Regions from separate parts of the Homo sapiens genome. Here regions 1 and 3 are each linked to region 2. Evidence: promoter capture Hi-C in 16 types of primary human blood cells and fetal thymus (Javierre and others, 2016). All regions are on one chromosome and are shown on one strand. Each heading gives the region's core, a stretch centred on a gene start or on the middle of the fragment in contact. The rest is flanking DNA. Distances are from core to core; before and after follow the strand shown.

Evidence for each region. The method cuts DNA at HindIII sites, captures the fragments that hold promoters and counts their contacts. A CHiCAGO score of 5 or more calls a contact.
Region 1: a fragment that was not itself captured here is called in contact with the fragment with the promoter of WNT8B in region 2 in 1 of 17 cell types (endothelial precursors); the score reaches 6.7 in endothelial precursors.
Region 3: a contact is called between a fragment that was not itself captured here and the fragment with the promoter of WNT8B in region 2, in 1 of 17 cell types (M0 macrophages). The highest score is 5.1, in M0 macrophages.

Annotation. Positions count from the first base shown.
Region 1 is chr10:100,862,711-100,865,562 of GRCh38, reverse strand. No RefSeq gene overlaps it. Among named protein-coding and RNA genes, the nearest start is that of SLF2, 49 kb to the left of the region's middle. The HindIII fragment of the contact is 3,474 bases long and covers 1-2,852 here.
Region 2 is chr10:100,461,688-100,464,643 of GRCh38, reverse strand. WNT8B (Wnt family member 8B) reads right to left here and starts at 1,635. Exons shown (of 6, transcript NM_003393.4): 1 at 1,408-1,635. The coding sequence starts at 1,475. The HindIII fragment of the contact is 5,936 bases long and covers 478-2,956 here.
Region 3 is chr10:100,884,030-100,886,852 of GRCh38, reverse strand. No RefSeq gene overlaps it. Among named protein-coding and RNA genes, the nearest start is that of SLF2, 28 kb to the left of the region's middle. The HindIII fragment of the contact is 2,683 bases long and covers 1-2,648 here.

The DNA.
Region 1 (2,852 bases), core at 61-2,560, 400 kb before region 2:
CGGATCTGTGGCTGGGGGCTCACACTTAAGCTCACAGAGGCCCAGGCCTGGTGTTAAGGGGGCTATTTCAGACTCCAAAGCTGTTTGGGGTTGGAGGGGTATAGGGACGGGGGCTCCCTATCCTCTGGGCTTGATGGGGCACCTGCCCTGTGACCATACTTTGAGGAGGAGACATGAGTGACAATGGCCTAAGCCTCTGGCCCCCTGACCTGTGCCTGTGGTCCTGAGAGGAGCCAGCCCTCCTATCAGGCTCTGAGAGCCTTGGGCCCCCAGGACAAACAGGGGCAGAGGGAGAGAAAGCTCCTACAGCTTTCTGTGATGTGCACAGCTGCAGCTCTTGTGCCTGCCCTGCACACACACTTACACACACGTGCCACGTGCCACGTGCCAGGCTGGAGGCTTGCCAGTGAGGCTCTCCTGGCTCTGGTCCATGGCCCTGTGCTATGGCCCTAGCTACAGTCTTTATGCCTGGGACTCCTGGTTCCCTAACTTCCTGTTCCCCAAGGGTCTTGCCCCCTTTCGGGCCAATGAGCAGTTTTGACCCCCACTCTCCTATTCCTCAGCTCTCTGGGACTACTGGCCCTCTAGTTCCTTGCAGTTCCCAAGAACCCTGGAGCCCCTGGTTCTTCAACTACCTGGCACACGTCTTCTTGTCCCTGACCTCTGGCCCTGGTTGGGGGTGGGGGCTCCTGACGGGTGGAGGGTAGGAGGGAAGGTGTGAGTCTGTATGTCTGTGTGGAACGGGGGCTGTTTAGATAAACAGATGGCAACAAATGGCATAAAATTATATACCCATAATGTCAGTTCATAACATTTTGTTCGACATACTTGATTTAATCGCTTAGCTGACGATTTGGCTTTTGGGCCCATATGGTGGGGAATGAAGCTGCGTGGCACCCGCTCCAATCTGGCTCTTTTATCACCGAGGCTGGGGGGCGGGGATGGGGGGGGTCAGTCGGGGGAGAAGAAGCGACGCAGATGGAAAGAGAATGAGCTGACAGGAGGGGGCCCAGGGAGGGGGTGACGGCAGGGACTGAAGGGGACTGGACCCTGGCAGGGTGGAGGAGGGCATCTGGAGACAGTGTGGGTGGGGCCGAATCATCCAGGATGGACAGGACTGTCCCCAAGGGACCTGAACCCTATGGCTGACCTCACTGGACTCTGCTAGGGCTGTGGCCCAGATCTGCCTCCATGAGCCCAGTGACCTGACACTGTCTTTTTCTCTCTTCAAAACGAAGACCCAGACCCCCAGGGCTATCCCCATCACTCCTGCCAAACTTAACAATTTGTGTGTGCACACATACGTGCATGCGTGTATGCCTGCCTGCTTGTGCGTATGTGCGAGGACGTCTGGGAGACCAAGAGATGCCTTGTGTGATGAGTTCTGTCTGTGCAAATTGCCTGACTTTCACTCTGAGCAACTGGGATGAGGTGAATCAGTGTTGTTGGGCTGAGATTGTTGCGGTGTGACTGAGTGAATGGGTGGTCCTGATGCACCGGGGCGCGCAGTAGGCATTCCAGCAGTGTGCTCAGTACGTGCCTCACAGAGGTTTCTTCTGGGTGTGAATGCTGGACTGGGGAATGACGCGTGTGTGTGTGTGTGTGTGTGTGTGTGTGTGTGTGTGTGTGTGTCCAGGCCCATCAGCGGACTCACCCTGCACTCTCTGCAAACAAGTCAAGCCCTGTGCAGAGTGCCCCCTCTTAGTTCTCTGGCTGTGGTCCCCAATCGCCATTCACCTGGCCTCTGCTGGGCACTCAGAGAAAAGTCTGGCTCTTCCCCACAGAGATCTCCCTGCTTCCCCATCGCCAGTCCAGCCTGCTTACACCCTGCCCACCCCTCCTCCTGGTCTCAGAACTGCGCCAGCCCCCACAATTGTGGCAAATCTGGGCCTAAATCGGCACCCATCACTCATGTCGGAGTCTCATCTGCCCCCGGCAGGGTGCCACCCGCTGGCTCCAGAAAGGGTGGGGAGCTGGCCCAGGATGGGGGCTGGCACCTGCAGAGGGTTGGGAACCTGCTGTCCTCTCCCCAATCCCCAGGACCCTGTCCCCCAACCCCAGCGTGGGCTTTGTGTGCATGGAGGCTCCTGGGCTGTGCTGGGGGCCTTGTCACCCATCTGCCCTTCTGGAGTCTCTGCCACTGTCTCCCTGTGTCTTCATAAGAGCCTCCTTCCCTCTGTCACTCGTCCTGTCTCTGCCTTTCTCCCACATCTCTGCTTCTCCCTCCCACTGCTTTTCTCTCCTTGCACCTCTGAGGATCTCTGAAGGTGGAGACCAGGATTGGGCTGGGGCTGGGGACCTATGCCAGCCCTCTCCACGTGGGAAGTTCTATTACCATCTTCCCCAATCCAGTGGGATCCTTCAGGAATGTTACCGGGCCTTGTGGCAGGGCTGACCCTGCTGGCTGCTCTCTACCTCCTGCAGATTGTGCCCTCAACACTCTGACTCCCATGGGATGTTGTGGTGTTTTTTTTGTTTGTTTGTTTTTGAGATGGAGTCTTGCTCTGTCACCCAGGCTGGAGTGCAATGGTGCCATCTCGGCTCACTGCAACCTCCACCTCCTGGGTTCAAGCGATTCTCCTGCCTCCACCTCCCAAGTAGCTGGGATTACAGGTGCCCACCACCATGCCCAGCTAAGTTTTTGAATTTTTGGTAGAGATGGGGTTTCACCGTGTAGGCCAGGCTGGTCTCAAACTCCTGACCTCAGGTGATCTGCCCACCTCGGCCTCCCAAATTGTTGGGATTGTAGGTATGAGCCACCGCACCTGGCCCAATGCTGTGGTTTGACTAAACTCTCAGCTCTCTCAGGCCGCTTGGCCATTCACTTGTTCAACAATCATGGGGCAAATCTG
Region 2 (2,956 bases), core at 386-2,885:
ACAAGCAACCCAGCCACCTTTCAGTGTGGCTGTGTCAGTATCGGAATGAAATGAACATGACCCCCTCCAGCAGGGAAGGGAACACACAGTAAAGGTATTTTTTATAGAACAATTCTTCACACCGCCCTGGTGACTAGGGAAGGGAATCTCGTGTTTCTCTTTTGCTGATACTGAATCAGCTGAAGAATACCATGAACATCAGTAGAAATGCTCTGAAATAGTCTCCTCTCCCTTTTGTCTTTTTGTTCTCATGAGGGGGAGAGAAGAGAGACCTTTTTTTTAACATTGAAATATTTAATTAAAATGCCAATTAAAAATGGACTAATTGGTGGTTCTGCTTATAATCAGAAATGTTGCAAATTATTGTATTAACTTGCAAATAGTTTTATGAAGTTGGCATACTTCCTATCAACACTCCTATAAAGACGGCTACACTCATTTATGATAAAAATGTATTTTCAATTCTCAAAGGAAGCTTATCTCAGCAAAGAAATTTCTTTTCCTGCTTCCTCAACAGTTTATGTAGCAATTGGATTTATATCTTTGTTAAATAGATGGTCAAAATGAGAGCTGATGAAGAGAGAGACTGAGCTCATATCTGAACTGGAGAGAAACTCCGAACACCCTAGCAACCTGCATTCTGTATGTTATTGTGTACTGGTGTATTTGCTAATGAACAGTTGCATGTATAGATAGTTTATGTGGTTTCCAAGAGCTAAATGAGAATGGTGATGATATTCTTTAGCATTTGTGTTTATAATTTACAAAGCACTTTCATATACGTTATCTGATTTTCTGAACAATTTAGAAATATTTGTAAATTGAACAAATTAAATAAATTTCTCGAGACGTTTAGATTTCTAAAATATCTGGTTTCAAACATGTTTGTTAACCCAATGCCTGCTTAGTGGTTCAAATAAAATTTTTTATGTCTAGGAAATGATAATTTGAGCAATTACTTAGAATATCCTGAAAAAAAAAATAAAGTCAGAAAGTACAAAGTAAGATCCCATTGAATTTTGTCTCCAGACTTTACCTCAAGATCAGATTCAACACACGGTAGAACTTGCTTTGAACTACCTTCCTCCTCTCTACAATGCTGACATCAGGATTTCGTGAAAAGGGCTGCTGTCCATTTACCCCCAAATCACTTTGGGGGAATATTTGTGGAATAGCAATTTATAAAAATAGGAACCCCCGCTCCCATCATTTAGTCCTTTATTGGTAGGGGTCCTAAAGATTCACTAAAATCAGCCATAAATTTAGGAAGAGCCCTACCCCATAGAACAGTTTTTCCTAGGAGAGCTATCAAGGCTTCCTACATTTCTGGAAATGAAATGAGCTTTACCCAACACATTACATACACTTACCTATTCCCAGCTCCAGGTAAGAGTCCAGGTTACTTACCAGCTGTGGCTGAGTTGGAGGACACAGGTGAAAAGACAGATGTACACAGAAGGCTTTGAAAGAAACATAATCCTCTGGAGTAACAGCTAGAGAAAATTCCAAAAAACTGGGAGATGGGTAAGCAAGACGGAGAAATATTCTCCTCAGTGCCAGTGGGATGGAATTCTCAAAGCCCAACTTCCTTGGTGTGTAAGCGATCCCAAACAGAGTTAAGGGGAGGTGAAATGGAGCTGCCAAACGTCCAAAGAAGAGATTATCTACTTAATTAAAGTTTTTTTTCCCCTCTAAGTCCTTCAGCCAATCAGAACTCAAGTGCCAGAGAAAGATTGAGTCGATCAAAAGAACACTCCAGGATCCTCCCAGACAAATGCAGAAGAAGGGGACCAGGAGAAAGAGGACAAAGAAAGAAGCGGGGGGAAGAGACATAGCAAATCCCCTCCACATAATCACTGCATGGAGTCTCTTTCCTCCCTCTTGCCTATCCCCTCCCATCACACCACAACCTTTTCCCACCTATGCACACTTACACACACACACACACACACAACACACACACACACACAGCCTGGTCCCCAAAAGGGATCCAGAAAGGACTGTGCTTTCCTGGTTGTCCTCTGTAGCACTTTGAGACTGAATTTGCATTCAGGATAGCATTTTTTTGTTTGTTTTGTTTTTTCAGAAAAAAATACACCAGGTGCAGGTGAACCTCCACCCTCTGATTTGAGAATGTGGGGATGCAGTCCTACCATCTAGTGTATTCTCTGTCTAAGTTAGAAAGGCTAGAAACTTCAGGAAGCCCGATGGTTTTTTCTTCCTTTCAACTTTTTCATCACACAATTACTTACCAAATGCCTATTTTATTCTCAACACCACCCTAGGCATTGTGGAAATTTTTAAAAACCAAAACATGATTTCTGCCCTAACAACATTTACAGCCTAGTAAGGTGACAATAAAATAACGCAGTTTAATAAAGTATTAGAAAGCTACAAACTGCCTATAATAGTGTAGGCTTATTTAGGGGAGGTTTTCTGAAGAAGGTAGAATTTGAGTTTCGAAGAAGGAAAGAGATTTCAATAGGCACACAAAGGTGATCTCAAAATCCCTACTTTCTTAAACTCAGGTGGCGGAGCCAGGAGGGCACCCAGGCCCTCGCTCACACTTCTCTGGGACTCTGCTCCTTCTGTTCCCTAGGGAGGAGGGTGGCCTCAGCCACAGCACTGGGGATCCTCAAAGGGCTCCAGACTGATGTCTATGTAGCCATATAGCCCCATCTTTTAAAAAAAATTTCAGTTAACTTTTGTGGATACATAGTAGGTATATATATTTATGGAGTACATGTACATGAGATATTTTGATACAGGCATACAATGAATGCATGATAATCACATCAGGGTAAATGAGTATCCATCACCTCAAGCATTAATCCTTTGTGTTACAAACAGTCTAATTATACTCTTAGTTACCATGTACAATGAAATTATTATTGACGATAGTCACCCTGTTGTGCTGTTGAATACTAGGTCTTCTTCATTCTTTCTAACTATTTTC
Region 3 (2,823 bases), core at 58-2,557, 420 kb before region 2:
GATTATGCCCCAGACATTAGACCATGACTGTTTGGGGATAAGGTCCAATCAGAGAACATAGCATTCAATTGAAATAGCAGGGAATTGGAGGAATTTGGGCTCTCCTGTTAGTTTAGTAAACTGAGAGTCTCTCAAAGATTTGTGTATGGCTCTGGCCTGCGCCTGATAGAAGGCCCTCCCACAACCCGTACCTCCCTTACTCGGTGAGCCATGATTTTTCTTTTTACTTAAAGACCTGGAATTATGAAACAACCGGAGAAACACACGCATTCTTTGACTTATTGCTAGTTGGCCCTTTGGGAGGAATGGCTGAGGTTAGGAAGGTGCCAGAGTTACTCAGAAAGTTCTGGAGGGTACCTACTTCTAACCCACAAATACTTTGCAGACGCAGGCTTGGTTCCTGGGCAGCAGCGGTTAAATTGAAATCTTGATTCTCTTGGTAACTTGATGGCTTAGTTTAGGCCTCAGATTGCTGTTCCATGAACTGCCTTGAAATTTAATCACCCAAATTTATTTCCTAGAGTGTTTTTCACCATCTCCTCCTCTAGGCCCATTAGTCACCATCCCGTGACCTGACAGAGTGATTATTAAAGACCCTGTGGTTCCCTTTCACTAGATTTAGGGGTGTTGGTAACTCTGGAGGCAAGTTCTAACTTGGGTCACAGTTGGGTGGATTTTCCCTCAATTGGTTGTGAATCTTCCCTCAGGGCACCTGGAGGCCTGGGAGAATTACACTGTGTACCTGCCATTTCTTCTTTAAAGCTGGCGAGATGGTTACTGGTGTCTTCTAGGGCTGGTGTTTTCAGGCTAGGGGTTATATTATCCTTTGCCCCTGAGCGCATTACTGACATCTCCCAGCTTCAATTTCCCTTTTGGTAAAAGAGGGATAATGCCCATAAAAGATCGGTGCTGACTGGGCGCGGTGGCTCATGCCTATTATCCCAGCACTTTGGGAGACCGAGGCAGGTGGATCATGAAGTCAGGAAAGCGAGACCATCCTGGCTAACGCAGTGAAACCCTGTCTCTACTAAAAATACACACACACACAAAAAATAGCTGGGCGTGGTGGCGGGCCCCTGTAGTCCCAGCTACTTGGGAGGCTGAAGCAGGAGAATAGCGTGAACCCTGGAGGTGGAGCTTGTAGTGAGCCGAGATCGCGCCACTGCACTCCAGCCTAGGTGATAGAGCGAGACTCTGTCTCAAAAAAAAAAAAAGTCAGTGCTGAGCCTGGCACATCAGCATGCAACGAAATGTTAGCTCCCTTCCCTTCCAGCTGGTACTAGACCTGGGCCTTCCTTTGAGGATCTTGGAAGAGAAATTTTATTAGTCTGATTTAGAAGCATTCTTACAGAACTTTATTTCAAGAATAGTTCATAAATGTTTAACTCTCTCCCCCTTCCAACCTAGTCCTCTTCTAAATAGGGGCTGCAGACCAGGTGCAGTGGTTCTTGCCTGTAATCCCGACACTGGGAGCCTGAGGCAGGTGGATTGCTTGAGCCCAGGAGTTTGAGACCAACCTGGGCAATGTGGCAAAACTCCATCTCTACCAAAAACTACAAAAAAGTTAGCAAGACATGATGGCACGCGCCTATAACCCTAGCTACTCGGGAGGCTGAGGTGGGAGAATCACCTGAGCCAGGGATCTTGAGGCTGCAGTGAGCCATGATGGCATCACCACACTCCAGCCTAGGTGACCAAGCGAGATCTTGTCTCAAAAGAAAAAAAAATGTAAGACAGTGTCTCTCTCCTAGAAACAGTTGTTTCCAGGTGCGAATGAAAGCCAGAATGATCTTGCCTTTTTTTTTTTTTTTTTTTTTTTTTTTTTTTTTTTTTTTTTGAGACAGAGTCTCACTCTGTCGACAGGCTGGAGTGCAGTGGCACGATCTTGGCTCACTGCAACCTCTGCCTCCCGGGTTCAAGCGATTCTCCTGCCTCAGCCTCCTGAGTAGCTGGAACTATAGGCACATGCCACCATGCCCAGCTAATTTTTGTATTTTTAGTAGAGATGGGTTTTCACCATGTTAGCCAGGATGGTCTCAATCTCTTGACCTCGTGATCCACCCGCCTTGGGCTCCCAAAGTGCTGGGATTACAGGTGTGAGCCAGTACGCCCGGCTGATCTTGCCATTTTAAAAGAGAAGCCAGATACCAGCATGTATGATGAAAAGTCTCAAATTTTACATGTTTTCAATTAATTAAAAAATGTAAAATATTGGATAGGTAAAACACAGTATGGCTTCCCACTGGTTAGGATGGCAGTGGGAAGGCTTTGCCCTCGGCAGGCTCTGGATACAGTGTTCTTGTTTTTGTGGCCACCCCCTTCCCCACCCCAAGGGCTGGGCCTTCCTACTGTCTTCTTGGTTGGCCTCTCAAGGTAACTACGTGAGCCTTCTCCTCTCCTGCAGACATGTTGGGCCAGTTAAAGGTTATTCTGTAGAAATCTCAACCAACAAGTCAAAAGATGAGTTTCCTGCTCTTAATAGATAATTTTTATTGGTTTTGCAATAAACGTATGAAATAGAAACAATAGCAATAAACCAGCTCAACAAGAAATCGAAAGGCGCAGGCCCCCAAAGCCCTTCCCGCCTCTTGTTAATGAGTCTCTAATTTATAGACCGGCTTGCAGGCCCACTTTTCTTTTGCCAAGCTTTGCAAACTTTTCCATCTTGGAGGCCCAGGTACTCTGGGGGCTTCTGTGCTCATTTCCACATAGTGGTTGTAATGGAAGTGGTTGTCATGCCAGAAGTGGTGGGGTGGCACTGCCTTGGGGTTTGGGGCCTGAGCCCAACCTTGTCTCCTTAAGGGGACTTGAGGGTCTGTCCCC